7 separate regions of the Homo sapiens genome follow, and all the other regions are linked to region 1. Evidence: promoter capture Hi-C in human tissues and cell types (Jung and others, 2019). All regions are on one chromosome and are shown on one strand. The core of a region is centred on a gene start or on the middle of the fragment in contact, and the rest is flanking DNA. Distances in the headings are between cores, read along the strand shown. Region 1 holds the start of MARCKS (myristoylated alanine rich protein kinase C substrate). Region 2 has its middle 18 kb from the start of FAM229B. Region 3 has its middle 120 kb from the start of RFPL4B. Region 4 has its middle 150 kb from the start of RFPL4B. Region 5 has its middle 170 kb from the start of RFPL4B. Region 6 has its middle 210 kb from the start of RFPL4B. Region 7 has its middle 330 kb from the start of RFPL4B.

Evidence for each region. Contacts are between HindIII fragments. The study calls those that stand out against the background at their distance.
Region 2: a contact is called between a fragment that was not itself captured here and the fragment with the promoter of MARCKS in region 1, in 1 of the 25 tissues and cell types used here (dorsolateral prefrontal cortex).
Region 3: a contact is called between a fragment that was not itself captured here and the fragment with the promoter of MARCKS in region 1, in 1 of the 25 tissues and cell types used here (dorsolateral prefrontal cortex).
Region 4: a contact is called between a fragment that was not itself captured here and the fragment with the promoter of MARCKS in region 1, in 1 of the 25 tissues and cell types used here (dorsolateral prefrontal cortex).
Region 5: a contact is called between a fragment that was not itself captured here and the fragment with the promoter of MARCKS in region 1, in 1 of the 25 tissues and cell types used here (IMR-90 fibroblasts).
Region 6: a fragment that was not itself captured here is called in contact with the fragment with the promoter of MARCKS in region 1 in 5 of the 25 tissues and cell types used here (IMR-90 fibroblasts, dorsolateral prefrontal cortex, heart right ventricle and 2 more).
Region 7: a fragment that was not itself captured here is called in contact with the fragment with the promoter of MARCKS in region 1 in 2 of the 25 tissues and cell types used here (dorsolateral prefrontal cortex and hippocampus).

What each region holds. Positions count from the first base shown.
Region 1 is chr6:113,856,047-113,858,635 of GRCh38, forward strand. MARCKS (myristoylated alanine rich protein kinase C substrate) reads left to right here and starts at 1,299. Exons shown (of 2, transcript NM_002356.7): 1 at 1,299-1,801. The coding sequence starts at 1,700. RefSeq lists enhancers at 54-113, 134-183, 454-999, 1,000-1,543, 1,331-1,380. The HindIII fragment of the contact is 5,128 bases long and covers 1-2,589 here.
Region 2 is chr6:112,104,555-112,107,143 of GRCh38, forward strand. No RefSeq gene overlaps it. Among named protein-coding and RNA genes, the nearest start is that of FAM229B, 18 kb to the left of the region's middle. The HindIII fragment of the contact is 4,320 bases long and covers 1-2,589 here.
Region 3 is chr6:112,461,778-112,464,366 of GRCh38, forward strand. No RefSeq gene overlaps it. Among named protein-coding and RNA genes, the nearest start is that of RFPL4B, 120 kb to the left of the region's middle. The HindIII fragment of the contact is 5,898 bases long and covers 1-2,589 here.
Region 4 is chr6:112,494,826-112,497,414 of GRCh38, forward strand. No RefSeq gene overlaps it. Among named protein-coding and RNA genes, the nearest start is that of RFPL4B, 150 kb to the left of the region's middle. The HindIII fragment of the contact is 4,169 bases long and covers 1-2,589 here.
Region 5 is chr6:112,514,074-112,516,662 of GRCh38, forward strand. No RefSeq gene overlaps it. Among named protein-coding and RNA genes, the nearest start is that of RFPL4B, 170 kb to the left of the region's middle. The HindIII fragment of the contact is 5,625 bases long and covers 1-2,589 here.
Region 6 is chr6:112,559,935-112,562,523 of GRCh38, forward strand. No RefSeq gene overlaps it. Among named protein-coding and RNA genes, the nearest start is that of RFPL4B, 210 kb to the left of the region's middle. The HindIII fragment of the contact is 3,570 bases long and covers 1-2,589 here.
Region 7 is chr6:112,679,897-112,682,485 of GRCh38, forward strand. No RefSeq gene overlaps it. Among named protein-coding and RNA genes, the nearest start is that of RFPL4B, 330 kb to the left of the region's middle. The HindIII fragment of the contact is 4,390 bases long and covers 1-2,589 here.

The DNA of each region.
Region 1 (2,589 bases), core at 49-2,548:
CACGAGTGAAAACTTTGGGAAGAAAATGCTTATTAAGCTGTTTCCTTGGTTCCCCTCACCCCTCATACTTTAAGTCAGTGCCTTGTCTCTCACGCACAAAAAGCGTCTGGTACTTCGGTGGCAAGGAGTGCAGTGACAGATGGAGGTATCCTGTGTACCATTATAGAAGGTTTTCCTCTAACCCAAGTTAGACTTGGAGAGCTCAGGGATCTTGCTATCTCTCAACATACAGAACATTTCTCCTTAGAACTGCAATCCGGTTTAGAATGTCATCGTTGCTGCTGCCTCCCTTCCTTTCAGGAGCACATTCGCCTGCGTGCGCACTCACACACACGTTCAAAAAGAGTCCATTCGATTCTGGCAGTAGGCTGAAAACGATCCATATTGACGCGAATAACATCCCAACTGTAAATATGGATTCGTCTACTCGAGGCTGTGTCTCATTTCACCATAGAGGAAAATTATGTCATTTAAAACAGTGATAAAACGCGAAGAGTTTCGATCTTCTGTAAATGGCTCTCACTTTGAATTGTGGGGGAAAAAAATCACTAATTGGGAATAGCCAGAGAAGGGGGAATTTGTTGAGCGCCCAAGGCCAATCTCAAAATATTTTATTTCATGCCAATGTGGGAGAGGGAAGGGAGTGTGGCTTCGCTGTTTGCCGCTTTTGCATTTTCCACATCTGGCCTACAGACCTAATTCTAACTTGCGATCTCGCTTGATGAAATTCGATCTTCGTGGTTTAAATACCTTTCAATTTGGGACGATTTAACCATTGCAGCAGTTCAAAAAACAAACCCTGAGCATTATCTGTAAAACCAATATGGAAAAAAGAAAGAAAACATGCTGCAAACACACAAATCGCAACCATTGTCTTTAACACTCGCATACACACACATACACATAAACACACGGAAAGATGGGGGAGGGGAGCGAGTGGAGAGAGAGAGACACACGGATATAGACCGACGAGAGTCAATGCGAGTCAAGTTAACGCTTTCTCCGCCCCGATGCACAAGTACCCCCCTCCCGTGTTAATTAATTCCAAACAAAGCAAGCCAATCAAGAAATGCATTATTATTTTCAAGCAGAGAGAGACGAGTGCCATGTATTTTTTAATTGATTTATTTATTTGGAGGACATTAATTCTCGGTCTGAGGCTGATTTTCAAACCGTTTGCAAAGCGCGGCTCCATTGTTCGCCAGGCGCGCAGACCCCGCCCCCTGCTTTGTGTGCGGCGCGCGGATTGGCCGACGCGCGCGGGGGCCGCGTCAGCGCCCGCGAGCCCATTCATCTGTGCACTTGGGCGTTGGACCCCGCATCTTATTAGCAACCAGGGAGATTTCTCCATTTTCCTCTTGTCTACAGTGCGGCTACAAATCTGGGATTTTTTTATTACTTCTTTTTTTTTCGAACTACACTTGGGCTCCTTTTTTTGTGCTCGACTTTTCCACCCTTTTTCCCTCCCTCCTGTGCTGCTGCTTTTTGATCTCTTCGACTAAAATTTTTTTATCCGGAGTGTATTTAATCGGTTCTGTTCTGTCCTCTCCACCACCCCCACCCCCCTCCCTCCGGTGTGTGTGCCGCTGCCGCTGTTGCCGCCGCCGCTGCTGCTGCTGCTCGCCCCGTCGTTACACCAACCCGAGGCTCTTTGTTTCCCCTCTTGGATCTGTTGAGTTTCTTTGTTGAAGAAGCCAGCATGGGTGCCCAGTTCTCCAAGACCGCAGCGAAGGGAGAAGCCGCCGCGGAGAGGCCTGGGGAGGCGGCTGTGGCCTCGTCGCCTTCCAAAGCGAACGGACAGGTAAATTCTACCTGTGGTTGTGGTCATTTATTTCGTGTCTTTCTCTCCTTCCCTCCTGGTGGCTCCCAAGGCTCATTCGTGGAGAGGAGTGTGGCTGGATTCTAGTCTGAAAGTTGAATGGAAATGGATAGCCTAAATTGTGGATTTTTCATAGCCGGGGTCCCCCCACACCAAAGGAGTGGTTCCTTAGAATCCTGGAGAATTCTTGAGTAGACGGGAGGAAAGGAGTGATAAATCGTCTAAAATGGCGTGGTTTGGAGATTGGCAGAACGTGACTAGCTAGGTGCCCTCCTTCCCCCGCCCCCAGCCAGGTTTCATTTGTGTTTGGGGGCACAATGGTGTTTGGGTGTCTCTCGGGTTTGTTGTCGAAGCTGGATTGTCTTCGAGATTTCTGAACTGGTGGTGTGATTGTGTGTGGCGGGGGGGGGAGTCGGGAAAGGGGGGCGCAATGGGGATGGTGGTGGAGAAAGGCGAGGAGGGAAAGGCTGTCTTATTGTATGCCGCGGCGGCGTGCCCTGGGTTCTTGGAAAGGTGGCTGGCTGGGGCCAGACAGAGGGCTTCGGTACCTTTTGATGAGGCTTTCCCACTGTCCTAAATCTTTATTCGTAGCTGTCTGTGGAATTACACATCCATTTGATTTTTAAATGGTATCTGTGGGGTGGGAACACTCGGTGGGTCCTTTAAGAACCTTTCCAGATGGTCAAAAAGAGGCGGTTCGTGCCTTTCGGTCGGGATTGTTCTTGTGCGTGGCGCCTCGACCACCCGCGAGGGGCCGCCCGGCGCTGCCC
Region 2 (2,589 bases), core at 37-2,536, 1.8 Mb before region 1:
TGCAACTATGAGCTGTCTACATGAGCCCACCTTAAATACTAAGACTCAGATAAATTAAAAGTATAAAAGGATAGAAATAGATATGCCATGCAGACATTAATCTGAAGAAAGCTGGAGTAGCTATGTTAATAATAGACAAGAAGATTTCAGAGCAAAGAATTTACAGAGGTAAAGAGAGACAATTCATAATGATAAAGGGGTCAAGACATCAAGAATACCTAACAATCTTAAATGTTTATGCCAGAGCTTCAAAGTACATGAAGCAAAAACTGATGCAATTGAAAGAAGAACTAACTCCACATTTGTAGTTCAGGATTTCAGCTGGTAGAACAAGTAAACAGAATCAGTAGGGATATAGAGGACATGACAATTGATATAGAACACTTTACCTAGGAACAGCAGAATACTGTATATTCTTTTCAAGTGCACATGGAAAATTTACCAAGTAGAACATATTGTAGGCCACAAAACAAGTTTCAATAAATTGAAAAGTATTCAAAGTATGGAAGGGTAGGCAAAGTATGTCCTACAGTAGAATTAAATTATAAGTTAACAATAGAAAGATACCTAGAGAATCTCCAAATATTGGAATACTAAGTGATACACTTCTGAATAACCCATGAATAAAAGAAGAAATGACTGAATAAATTAGAAAGTGCTTTGAACTGGATGAAAACAAAAACACAGCATATCAAAATGCATGGGTAGCGCTTAGAGAGAATTAAGGCAATAAATTATTTCATTAGAAAAGAAGAAACATCTCAAGGCAATGATCTAAGCTTCTACCTTAAGAAAACAGAAAAAAATGAGCAAACTAAATCCAAAATAAGCAGAAAGAAAGAAGTAATAAAGAGCAGAAACAATGATATAAGAGCAGATAAATAATAGAGAAAATCAATAGAAACAAAAGCTGGTTCTTAAAAAAGATCAATAAAATTGATAAACCTCTAGGTAGAATTATCAGGAAATAAAAAGACACAAATTATCAAATCAGGAATGATAGTAGGGGCATCACTACAGATTTAAGAAACTACCATCAGAGTGAACAGGCAACCTACAGAATGGGAGAGAATGTTTGCAATCTGCTCATCTGACAAAGGGCTAATATCCAGAATCTACAATGAACTCAAACAAATCTACAAGAAAAAAACAGCCCCATCAAAAAGTGGGCGAAGGATATGAACAGACACTTCTCAAAAGAAGACATTTATGTAGCCAAAAGACACATGAAAAAATGCTCATCATCACTGGCCATCAGAGAAATGCAAATCAAAACCACAATGAGATACCATCTCACACCAGTTAGAATGGCGATCATTAAAAAGTCAGGAAACAACAGGTGCTGGAGAGGATGTGGAGAGATAGGAACACTTTTACACTGTTGGTGGGACTGTAAACTAGTTCAACCATTGTGGAAGTCGGTGTGGTGATTCCTCAGGAATCTTGAGATATAAATACCATTTGACCATTTCACCCAGCAATCCCATTACTGGATATATACCCAAAGGATTATAAAACATGCTGCTATAAAGACACATATACACGTATGTTTATTGTGGCACTATTCACAATAGCAAAGACTTGGAACCAACCCAAATGTCCAACAATGATAGACTGGATTAAGAAAATGTGGCACATATATACCATGGAATACTATGCAGCCATAAAAAATGATGAGTTCATGTCTTTTGTAGAGACATGGATGAAGCTGGAAACCATCATTCTCAGCAAACTATTGCAAGGACAAAAAACCAAACACCGTATGTTCTCACTCATAGGTGGGAACTGAACAATGAGAACACATGGACACAGGAAGGGGAACATCACACATTGGGGCCTGTTGTGGTGAGGGGGGAGTGGGGAGGGATAGCATTAGGAGATATACTTAATGTTAAATGACGAGTTGATGGGCTCAGCACACCAACATGGCACATGTATACATATGTAACTAACCTGCACATTGTACCCTAAAATTTAAAGTAAAAAAAAAAAAACATTAAAAGGATAAATAGAGTTTTCAGCAGTATGAATTCTTTAATTCTTTAGTCTTCCAAGGCCTTTACCCTGAATAAATTGCCTTCCCACATTTCTTACATTTCCAGGTGTAAGCTTTCTGTAAGGGAATATTACAAATAGGTCCTAGGGCAACCTGGTGACACCATGCTTTCATAACCTTCCATCTGGCTGACATCAGCTCATTAATCAACAGTTTTTAGACAGGATCATTTGACAACATGTTCTGTTGAGGTTGCTGGTTTAGCTCTCTGTAAACTATGGTCTGGCTGGGCTGGTGAGGGACTCAAGCCTGAGCAGCCACCATCACTACACTTGAGAAGTTCCTTGAGAGATTCAACTGTTTCTTCCGGCTGCTAGGGTCATGCTACATTCCACTTACGTTTCTGCCTTCCTGTCCCATGCTTTGGCAGATCATCAGGCTTTCACCCCTAATCTCATCTTCCTTGTGCCCACCTCATCCTGTCCTCTAGCAGTCTTCTCTGGGAATGGTGTCCTTGGGTGCTGTGATGTTTAGAAACTGAGTGGTCCTATTCATGGTAGCCAAACTTCTTACCTACTTTTTCAGGACTTAAA
Region 3 (2,589 bases), core at 43-2,542, 1.4 Mb before region 1:
TAAGGTGGGGACAAGAATTTCAGGCATTTTTTTTTTTTTTTTGTGAGGGTTAGAGCAGACCTCCTTGTATTAGAATATACCGTTTACAGGAGAAATCCAAAACTTGGTCTATTTTAGTTTCTATTTCTGACCTATCTGTTTCCTTAAAGTTTTAGTTTGATTATGTTACATTTGGCGTGAGTGACTCCATTTTGGTTTCATCTGGTTTGTTCTGTTGGAGCCTAGTGCATGACTTCCATCAAAAACAATAATCTTCCATAATTTTATTTAAAAAATCCACCCCCGTCCCCTCCCCCCCACTTTTTGGCAGATTATCACTTAGGTAAAGTTGTGACCAAAAGCTTAAGGCCTTAGTATGACCTTCAGTTACCATCATTTTGGGTTTCTGGTTTCAGTTTGTTATTTTTAATTTATAGTGTCCTTGTGTTCACACATTTCTTTGAGTTTTTGTTGCTCCAGTTGAAGAGAGATCATTTGACATTCTAGACATGGCTGTATGCAAACATTTAAAAATTTTGAGAGAAGATAATGCAAGAGGGAGACTACTATTATAGCTATCATTAGGATAATACCAAAAGTTTGGAATATGCTATTTAGTTAGGGTACCCGTGAACCAAACCAACTATAATCAAATAGATCAAATGATGAGCCAGATAGAGTTTACCCCTTTTAAACAAGCTGCCTATACATTAATTCCTTACAACTGAATCTCTGTAATACCCAATATATTTTTCCATATGCAACTAGAAGTATCAGCAACTACACAGACACTTCTCTGTTCAGCCAGTAAGTCATCTAATGGGAAAGCTATTATACTACCAGAAAACATGCATTAAAAATGGCAACTGAATGAAATTCCTCTATAGATCTTTAAATGGCCCACTGGCCCATCTGGTAGCAGAAATGTAGCTGAAGTTTTTATTATTAATATTATTCCAGGACTATGAGTTTGAGAAACCAAACATTGGTCATGAACTATTTTAGCAATTTTGAACAGTCACCACACACAGACACATATACACAAGTGTGTGTTTGTGTACAAACATATATATTTATTTGATTTGGATTATTTTATCTCTTTCGTGATAAGTCATGGACTGCAGAGCTTTTAGTGATGAAAGCTTTAAGGACTCAGGAAGGATCAGGTGGCCTTTTGGGTTCTCCATGAGCCTGTACTTAATATTGGATTTATTTTCTCTTAAATACCAGGTTTGTTTCTGCAATTCATGTGTATAACACTGATAACTGATGGGTTATCATAGGTAATTTGACTTGGACCATGGAGTTCATTCAAATTGCATATCTTAACAATTTCAGTACTGGCTGATTTAGCATGAAAATCCGGCAAAGTATTTCCTTGGTATTCAATTATTTTTTGTCCTGCTTGGGTTAACAGTTTTATAAACCATTCACTGTCTTCACTGGAATTCTGGGAATTTTTATGCAGTCCAGATGATATGATCCTAAAGTTATCAGATACGTTTTTTAACAAACACACATTTGTATGCCTTTATAACTGCTCATCAAAAACATATTTTCCTTTTGTTTATAACTCTGTATATGCAATTGTTTATTCATATTTAGTAGTTTTAATTATATATAAAAATAATAATTTTAACTCTTAGTAACCTTAATTTATAGTGAAAACACTAGAAAGAAATTTTGAACTGTTTTGTATCAGTATTTGTAGATGAAAACTATTTTATAATTATTTAGAAAGATGTTTCCTTACATTATTATTTATTAACAGATCTAAATATATTTAGCTTTTCTATATCATATAAAAATAAGATGTCAAAATATATAAACATAAACTTATGTTTAATAATTAATGTTTCAGTATTTTAACTTACAAATGACTCTGAACTTTTATGATTATCTATTATTTAACATACCGTGACTTTAAGATTTTAAATTACTGAAAATAATTTTGAAACTGTGACACAGTGATATGGTTTGACTGTGTCCCCACCCAAATCTCACCTTGAATTGTAGCTCCCATAATTCCCGTGTGTCATGAGAGGGACCCAGTGGAAGGTAATTGAATCATGGGGGTAGGTTTTTCCAGTGCCATTATTATGATAGTGAATAAGTGTCATGAGATCTGATGGTTTTATAAAGGAAAGTTCTCCTGAACACACTTTCTTGCCTGTTGCCATGTAAAACGTGACTTTGCACCTTGTTTGTCTTCAGCCATGATTGTGAGGCCTCCCCAACCATGTGGAACTGTGAGTCCATTAAACCTCTTTCCTTTATAAATTACCCAGTCTCAGGTATGTCTTTACCAGCAATGTGAGAACAATCTAATACACACAGCTACATTCCCTAATGTCTTTTCTGGTCATCTTCGGTCTCAAGTAGCCATGTGGTTTCCAAGATGGCTATGAAGGGCAGAGCCTTTCTGAGACCTGGATTTACATACCAGGTGTAGAGCTCAGGACAGAAGATAGATCTGGGAAGACTGTGCCTCGAGGATCTGATCCCTCCCAGAATAGCCAGGAGGCAAAGCTAGGGCAGGGAAGAAGGGGCCACATTGGACTTGACTCTGACTTGCAGCAGCTGGTCTAGACACTGAGAAAATGTCTCCAG
Region 4 (2,589 bases), core at 43-2,542, 1.4 Mb before region 1:
ATTTTTCTTTTTTCTGTGTCTGTTCAACACTTGAAAGCTTGCTTGATATTATGCTGAGACTGTAGAGTTTAAAACTCTGGAGCTAAAAGAGACAACAGAATTCATCCAATCTGACTTTAAAGATGCAGAAACTGAGGACTGGAAAGCTTTGCTTAACACATATCTTGACCAGAATAGGAACTATAACTTAAAGTTTCCGTAAGACACTGAGTAATTACATCAATATTTAACATGAATGGCATCTGTCTTCTTGTTCTCTACTCAGTCATTGAGGATCTCAGTGGGGAATGGGATGAAGAGCTCAGGTGGAAGGGATTTGCCTTGAAGAGGAGGATGCCTGTCGTGCATGTTCTACTCTATTTTTTTATGAAGTACGGATCTATGCTATCCACAGGGTTGAGAGGGAAGGAAGACATTAGGAGCATGCTATAAGTTTGGACTGTCTGCTGAGAGAATGGAAAGTGAATGTGCCTAGGAATGAATACAATGAAGTGAATACATAGTGGAGCATTGAAGACTCACCTGGGCGTGAATGGAAGCAATGTGAGATGGTACTAATCAGCAAGACTATTTTTTTTTCAGTAGTGCTCATGGTTCTGGAGAAGAAATAGAAAAGTGAGTCCTTAAACTGATCCCACATTGTAGAAGGGTCTGGCAAGCGAGGCCTACTGGTTAGAGAGCAAGCAAACCGAGAGCTTTCATAACACAGGCAAGAGGGAATCGATGGATCCTGGGAAGGATAGTATCACAGGATAAAGGAAGGACTCCATGAAGTTTAAATTTAGAGTTAATGAGAGAAAAATATTGGAAGGAATGAATGGACAGAAAGTTCTGATCAGAAAATGTGATTTCTAAGCTTGAGCTTTCAGGACCATGTGGTTCAATACAATAGCCACTGGTCACATATGGCTACTCCAAACTGGGATGAGCTGTAAGTGTAAAATATAGCCCAGATTTTGAAAACTTAGAATGAAAAAAAGAATGCAAAATGTGTTACTATTTTAAATATTTATTCCATATTGAAATGATAATATATGGGATATATTGGGCTAAATAAAATGTTATTAAAATTAATTTCACCTGCTGCTTTTTAAAATGTGGCTACTGGAAAAGTTAAAATTATACATGAGGCTTGCATTACACTTATATTGGATAGCACTGTTTTAGCAGTTGTATAGTTACAAATCAAAACAGAGCTTTTCAAAATGTGATCTTCAATCATTTAATTGATATTTAGGGCATAAACGACCAATATTTTAAAATAGCTAGAAAAATTATCATGGTATAAAAATTAAAGAGTAAACAACATTTTAATATGTGTTAATGAAAGTGATCATGGCTTAATTTAAGAGGAAGAAATTTTCCTAGTTTTTCACTGAATTCATGATACAAAACTCATTTGCAGATAGATTAATACATTGATTAGGAAACACATTCAATAGTTTTCTATTCTTAGTCTTTATATATTTGTATTAAATTAGTCATGAGTTGGCAATATGGAAATAATTAGTTGGTGACTGTCAAATAGTGCTGAATAATCAGCTTGTCCCGAAACTCAGGGAGATTTCTGTTTAAAACCACTTCCAGTGTTGTTGACAAACATTTCCCACTCAAAGTAGAAGTCAAAAGATAAATGCAAATGGATTTCTAATCCATTTTTTAGTCGCAATTATCTCTAGAAATTTTATTGCCTTTTTATAGAATTTGAATGTGGTTTTAAAATAAAACTCTTACATAGAGTGTCAAAAGATCTTTGGCAAGGGTGCCAATAGGGAGAGGTTAGTCTCTTCAATAAAAGTGCTGGAAAACCTGGATAATACATGTGTAAAAGAATAAAGCTGAACCATTATTTTATACCATATACAACAATTAAAATGGATTAAAGATCTAAACACAAGACCTGAAACTATGCAACTCCTGGAAGAAAACATAGTGGAAAAACTTCATGACATGAGATTTGACAATGATTTCTTGGACATGAAACCAAAAGCACAGACAACAAAAGCAAAAATAGAGAGATGGGACCACACGCAACTTAAAAAACTTCTGTAGATTAAAAGAAACAGTCAACAGAGTAAGATGGCAACCTACAGGATGGGAGAAAATATTTAGAAAACACACATGTGATATGGGCTTGGGTTAGTATCTAGAATATATAAAGAACTACAACTCAACAAAAAAATCTAACATCCAGTTGAAAAAATGGGCAAAGGACTTGAATAGACATTTTATCCAATAAAATGTACAAACTGCTTGCAAACATATGAAAAGATACTCAACATCAAAAAACACTAGGAAAATGCACATTGAGATGTCACTTCGCACTCATCAGGATGGCTAATTAAAAAAAAAACAAAATAAGTGTTGGCTAGGATGTGGCAAATTGGAACTTGTACACTGTTGGTGGGAAGGCAAAATTGTGCAGTCCCTATAAAAACAGCATAAAAGCTGCTCAAAAAATTAAAAATCGAATTATCATATTTTCCAAAAGAAATGAAAACAGGTTTTCAAGGAAATATTTGCACACCCATTTTTATTGCAGATTAACAATAGCTAACAAGTGAAAGCAACACAAATGTTCATTGACAG
Region 5 (2,589 bases), core at 52-2,551, 1.3 Mb before region 1:
AGCAGACAATACAGGGCAAGCAAGGAATCATGTAAAGCAGTTAGGTGGCTATTGCGTTAATTTGAGATGGTGGTGGTTTGGATTAGAATGGGACCTTGGAGCTGATAAGAAGTGCTTGTTGTCTGAATACATGCTGAAATTTGAACTGACAGGATCTGATGATGGAATGAGATGTATGGTAGGGGAGAAACAGAAATTAAGTATTATAGAAGTTTTCAAATTTGAGACACTGCAAAAATGGAGATGCTATTTCCAGCAATGAGGGATAACAGATTTGTTGAGGGGAAATGCGGGGTATAGTTTGGATGGCTTGAGTTTATAGTGCCTAGTAGATGTCCAAGTGGAGATGTTGAGGAGCCATTTGCATTCACCCAGGAAAAGAACCTAGATGTAGAGAAGAAATGATCTAAGGATTGTGCCCAGGGCAGCCAACTTCCTTTATAGCTGGAGGACAGCAGAGAATTTAGGCATAGATGCAGATAATTGGGTAGATGTGGTGCTGGGAGCTTACGAAAGCTTCTCTCTGAGTGCTTCTGTTTTCCCATTGAAATAGAAAGTAGGACCATCATCTGAGAAAAAGGATGGGGGTACAAGTATAGGTTTCAAGGGAGATGAAAAAAAGAGTCCTTTAGAAGATAGAAGAATGAGAAGGTAAAGGGATCTGAGTGGCAGAGCCAGAAAGCTCTCTGGGTGTACCTGAATTCAAAGTTATGAATTCAACATCGGACCATTCAGTGTGATTGTATTGTTTACTCCAGCAATGTTCAGCTGTGGGAATGAAATCACAAAGTGGGTGCAAGAGTAGGATTTAATCAGGATTAGTCTTTTTACAAGGGAGAACATTGAGCAGGAGGGGGCAAAGGAAATGGGGGAATGCAAGGGAGTGATTATAATGAAGAACCAGGGAACTTAAGCTGAGTTAAGAAGAATTAGTTGACAAAGTACTAACATACAATTAAAAGAGAGCATGTAAAGACAATTGCATGAGAATTTGCTGTATGAAAACGTCACTCTATGTCTTTGAGTGTCCCTGGGGTTATAAATACTCTTTCTTTAGAGAGTATGGCTTCATACTCCAATATCACTTAGAGTCACTTTATTGTGACAATTTTGTTTAATGGGTTCCAAAACACCGTAGAGGCAGGAACAAATATTTCAAATTCACAGTACTTTTCCTGCAATACTGAAATTGAAAAACCACTACAACTTGGAAGCTGATTTTCTAATTCATTTGGTAGCAGAATATGACCTCACCTGAACTCAACTGGTGGCAAATTGTTGTTTATTTATGTAATAATGTGAATAATCCTACATTATCTGCTGAAATATTAGCATGCTTTATTAAAGGGAACTGCTGGAGACTCTGGCTGGGATGTCACATAATATACAGAATATTTCTCATTAACATTCTAAAATCTGAAAAAGCCTCAATCTCAGAACCCATTTCACCTTAAGGATTTTGGATAAGAGACTATAACCTATACTAACATTCTACTTGAAAGAAAACCGATGTTTGGATATTTAAGTAACTTGTGTAAGGCCATGAGTTGTAAGTGGGATAGCCAGGTTTGAACCCGATGCTGTGTGAGTCCAGGGTACAACTATAGAATCCATTACTGCATCCCCCTCAGCAACTTTCTTTCAATGGTTGTAGAGTTGTTCATTCAGCCACTTAACACTCATTGTGCAACTGGGGACCACAATGTGGAGGAAAGAGAAACTCTATGAGGATTCATATAATCTCCACTTGGCTATACTCAAAGAATATAGAAACATGTTAATGAGAGAGGTATCAGTCTGCCTGTTTGTCTGTCTTAACCAGGAAGATGGGTCAGAGTTGGAATGGAAACACCTTTTTTAATGTGAGGCAAGAAACTCAAAAGCAGAATCTCTCCTGTTGAGTGAACTGACATGTTCAGCCAGTACCTGCTATCACCGAAATTGCCCAGTTGAGTGGCTGCATGTATAAAACATTTGAGTTCTCAATCAAAATAAACTCATTTTTGAAAATCCACTCTTTCCACGCTACAACTACTGCCGATAATAGCAAACATTGACTTCGTGCTCACAATTTTTCAAACACTGTTGTGAACACTTCATGTATTTCATTTCATTTAATGTTTAAAACAACCTTGTGAAGTAGGTAATATTTATTATCCTTCTTTTATGGATGAAGAAATCAAAGATTAGAGAGGTTTAGCAAATACTCAAGGATATGTAGCTAGTAAAGGGAAATAAAGGCTTCTAATCTATGCTGCTAGGCTTGAAAACAGTGGTTTATAACCATTTAGCACCTTGCGTTTCAAAAGTAAGCAATGATAGCAATAATAATAGCTACTACTTTTTGTAAGCCTACTATGGGTCATATACTTTATAAACATTATCTCATTTTGCTGCCACAATAATCCCAAAAGCTTATTAACTGGGAGAACTAAGATTCAGATAGTTGTACAATTTGACTATGTCTGTACAGCTGCTAATTGCTCCTTTCTGTTACCAAGCCAAGACATTCAAGTCTGAGAAAGAAAAGGCTTCTATATGTGGTTTATCATACTGCTGTACACAAGGAGGGCAATTTTAGTTACTGGG
Region 6 (2,589 bases), core at 28-2,527, 1.3 Mb before region 1:
TTTCACTCTGAGCAACTTCTTTGCATAATTTTATAATTTCTTCTCTCAGTTCTCTTCATTCTCCTTGCCTTTACTCCTAATATTCAGATACTATATCCATAATTGAGTGTTTATGTCTTTATATATTTTTTAAATTTTTGTACTATATTCTGGTTGACTTTTCAAATCTTATCTTTTAATGCCTACAATGACGGAAGAAAAAGTGTTTCTGCTCTAGAATCCTAAACATAGCCAGAATACCATTCAAGCATAATAAGATAATATAGCTATAACCAAGCTTAGAAAATTAATATGGCAAATGTCCTTTCTTTGGAAATCTCCTGAGGATTCTCTTCAAGAAAATAATGGTGACAACTAAAAACAAAAATGAAAACAATTTGGGCAACAATTTCTATATCAAAGAGTAATAAAGGTAAATAATTAACAGCACAACTGGTGTGTGGCAGCCTAGAGAGCTGGCACTCAAGCTTGGAGAAGGATGGAAGCTATGGAAAGGAGGTCCCTGAGAGGGGAAAAAAAGGACACCACATAATTAACAGTAGGTAGAGAGCTTAGAAAAAAAGTGAGGATATAATACAAGTACACAATTTTAGAATTAACACCCTCCTCACTACCACCATAAAGTTGGAGTATGGAATAATTAGGGACAGAGACTAAGCAGTTAAAATAAATGATCTCAAAGGGCTGAAATTTAGACTTTGAGTGCTAACTTACTTATATGGTTAAACTCAACCAGTAAAAAACTAGCATAATACTCAACCAATCAATAGAAAACAGCTATCAATTTCATGCCAAGATTGGTTCCAGAAGCACAGTAATAGTTCCTTTTTCTGAGTAAACTACAATCTGGTAGAGAATCAAGACGTGAATGAGATGATACCATTTGCCACAAGAATTTAGAGAAGGGAGACCCCATGTGGCACAGGGCTTGTGCATGTACAAGTGAACCTTTCAGAGCTGGGCAGACTTCCTAGTGCAGGCCAATGCCTGTGAACTAAGCGTCTTTCTCATTGGCCACTCCATCCTTAATTCACAGCAACACAGGCACTAAATAAAGGTTTAATACCATATTGTCTTGTCTTGGAACTAACAGCTTTCCTATTGTAAGTATCAATTTTCTTTAAACTTCCAAAGTTCTTCTGCGTGGGTCTTCATCAGTAATTTCTGGAGAAAAGCAATATTTTAGGATCCGAATACACCACTATGTCTTGTGGGATTCCAATTTGGGTCCTATAAGGAGCTCTTAAAAGTCTGACATTTTAGACTCTGCCTTGCCCTAACCCAGTGCTTTCTATTTCTAGGCTTTCAAAAGATCTTTCTAACTCCACTGTCCCTCTTCTTTTTGTTTGTGATATAGATTGATTTTCTTTAATATCATGTTTCTACTGTCTGTCTTTTCTTGCCCCAGCCTGGTTCTCCTGAGGTTACAAACCTCTAACAATCTTTAATATCTAATAGTTTTTAGTCTTATATTCAGCCTGTGCCATTTGTTTCTCTTTCTTCTTTTGTCCAGTCTTTTCAGCTTTATTTGCCTTGCTCTTCTTTGTCCTGCTTTGTTTTTCATTCATTCATTTATTCATTCATAAATATTAAACACTATACTAGGAGTGGGAATACAAAATCAATAAGAAATAGTCGTTCTAAAATATTTCATAATCCAATAGATCTTTAAGTGGAAGTTAGAGTAGATGTAAGACCTTCAATTGAGCTAAGAAAAATGGTCTGGCAATGCCTAATACTTAACACGAAAATGGGAGAAACAAGTTTTGCCTAGGATGCCTGAGTAAAGCTTTATAGAGCAGGTAAAAACTGAGCTGAATTTTGAGGGATGAGTAAGAGTTTAAGGAAAAAACAAAAACAGGGACTAGAGTAAGAAGGGAAAGGTATTCTAGGTGAAGGGAAGAGAATATACAGAGTTATGGAATGAGTTAGATGTTTGTGAATATCTTACTACCAGTAGTTACTCTAGCTATATTTGATTCTTTTCTTCCTGGGAAAGCAAAGTGAACCCCATCAAGGTCTCTAATGTTGCTGGTGGAGTGGTCAAGGACATTTTTTAAAATAGCTTTCATTTGGATAGTTTATATCCACTCCCATTGAAACTCCTCATTCTTCATCCTCTTCTCCCCAGGATTTCTCAGGGGTACTATATTATTACCAAATATTGGATGTAGTGAAATTTGTTAATAAACTCATCCTTTGCAAATATTAAACAGGTTATTTGTAATGACAGTTATTAAGGGGGATTTTCTAAGCCTGTATTTTGAGATGCTCAAACAATAGTCTTTGAGGGCAACTTACCAAATGCATTAAAGGAAGTCATTTGGAAACTTCTTTACTGCTTTCAGAAATAAGAGAATTGAATTTCTCTTTTGCAGCCAATTCTCTTCAGCCACACACACACACAAATGAAGGTTTACTAACACTCTTTCTCTTGAGAACACTATCTACTGTGAGTGGTGCCAACAGCTGAAAGCATCGAGCCTGCCCTTGCACTGTGAGAACACAGCTCTCTCCCAGGGTCTGCCCAGATGCTCATTAAAATCCAATGAGTACCCAACAAGGATGTGTTGTTTAGTCCAACATCAT
Region 7 (2,589 bases), core at 53-2,552, 1.2 Mb before region 1:
GGGCAAAATTTAGAGGACTTAGATAGCTTTCCAATGTGTGCGTGTGTGTGTGTGTGTGTGTGTGTATTCTTAAATATGGCATCAAGATTTTCTGCAACTGAATTAATTTTGAATAAAAGATATCTTTTGTCCTTCAACATGTAAAAATCAGCTCTTGACTATCAGAAGAAACTTATACTAAGTTACACCATTTAGTGTAGGAGATTTTAGGGTAACCATTTCACAAAGCCAATTTCTGGTTTAATTTTCACTGTGTATAAAAAGTTTTTCTTGGTTTTAATTCAGTTTCAAAGGATTTAGGGTTTATTCTGAGAGTCTAAGTTTATGTGTCATTGGATAAATAAGTGCATTTTCCTCATTCTTCAAATATTTTTCTGGAACAACTATTTCTAGCTAAAGTACTCTGATGGTAAGTTAAAAATTACAAATGTGCTTAAGACTATCATATAGTTTTAAAACATATCCTTGTCCATTAGCCAGGACACACAGAAAAACAAGAAAGCTTGCCAGCCATGGAGACATTTTCTTTCTTTCTTTCTTTTTTTTAATAAGCATTTCTTTTTATGCTTCTCTGTTTTATTTAATCAGATAAGAATTAAATATTGGCAGGTTGGAGAATGTCACCACAAACAAATGAAGGATGTGCATTTTGTTTCAGGTAAAAAGAGACAATACTATTTAGTTGTGGGAAGGGAAACATGATATCAAGCTGGCGAGCTCTTAAGGTTCATTTGGGTTTTACGTCTATGAATTTGTTTGAACTTGTTCATTAAACAACAAACTTCCCCTTACTTCTCCTAGCACACAAAAAGAAAAATTAATCTAAAAAATGCAGAGATTATTTCTTTGTGCTTCCTCTTGGTGCAAAAGTCATAGGTTGATTTCCTACAATTAAACTTGGTTTTTAACAAAGAAAACAAATGATTGAGAGAAAAAGTATCACGTTATTAATGAAAAATAAAATAGTAAAATGTCCCAGAAATAGAAACAGGCACCTTTTCACATTCTACTGTTTTCTACTGAATAAATGAATATCAAACTGAGAAACATTAATGCATGTGGTTGAACAGCAGGTAACACAGGTAATAGCAACACTAAACAAACAAAAAGTAAAAAATAATCAGTTGCATTTCTGTCTCATTAGTACTACCTATGATTTCAGACTTGAATTCATATTCAACATATTTCTGTGGAAAGATACAAGGCCTAAAATGGAGTAATATGTTTTCCAAGTAAGCTTATTTGGAAAATATTTGAAAGAGCAGATTATTTGACCATGTGCAAAACAAACATTAACCATCTCAACTTCTTCTAATGTTATATCAACAAACCATCCTCCTCCTTTACATAATGCAGTAGCTTATATATATTGTGATAGATTGTCCACAATTATCCTTCCTTCTCTGCCCTTGTTAGGACTCCCCATGGACATGGTAAAGTGTCTCATCCCACTGGCTTTTGGCTTGGTCACATGACTTGCTTTGACAAATGGAAGGTGCAGAATTGAGATCATGCTTTGTAAGCATGGTATTAAAAGGCATTATGTGCTTCTTCTCATCTTTCTTGCACTCTGCCATGACATTATCACATCACAGATGGAAGCTTCTCTTTTCACCTAGATCCTAGAATAAGGAAACACAAAGAGTAAACCTGTACCCAACCCACAGCCTGGAACAGACCCACTGCAGCCAATCCCCAGACCCACGAATGAGAAGTCAATGTTTGCCTGAACAATGTAAGCCTGAAAGTTTGGGCTTGTTGATTATGCATAATTATAACTGGAAAAACTGACTAATACAAGTGTCCATGAAAAAATTAACAAGAAAAGTTCAATAGAGATGGCATTATAAAACATGCTTGCAGTTTATCCAGGAGTACCAAGGCCTTGTACTAAGAAGGTGATGTAAAGGAGCTTAGTACATAGTGGTGGAGACCTCACCACTGGGTGCAAGAATCAGAATAAATATGGGAGTTGGGGACCTACTTTTAAAAGAATGAAGACCTTGGACAAGTTAGCATAATCGGAAGTTATATGAAAGAAAAGAAGACAAGGAAACAGTGACTACAAATGGGGTAAAAAAAATAGAGGTAAATCAGCAGCAAGACTGATGGTTTACGGAGCCCTGGAGTAGTTGAGCTGTTTCTTCTTTAAATTTTTCTTATTGTGATGCTAGCTTGTAGTAATGTCAAGTGGCTTCAGATAAGATGGGTCAAGGGAACAAGGCAGGGCCTGGCACTAGAGGCCCGGGTCACTTCTATGTGAATTATCCTCATAATAAACTGACAGCATCTGAAAGGATCTTTTCCGGATGGGGCTCCAGGGCGTGATAAGCATACCCATAAGAACTGTAAGACCTGTAAGACCTGTAAGAACAAACCAAACCACAAAATTAACATGAGATGAATACACTGCCAGCTTGCCAAGACAGATCGTAATGTAGTGGGTGGTCTCTTTGTCATCTTAAGTAATCATTGTGTTGGCATAAGCTTACAAATAGAAATATATTTTTAAAGAATTACAGAGAAAAGTCATTTTACTTTTACAAAGGCCATCGCTACATTTGGATTTAAAGGCTTTCAAAGACAGGA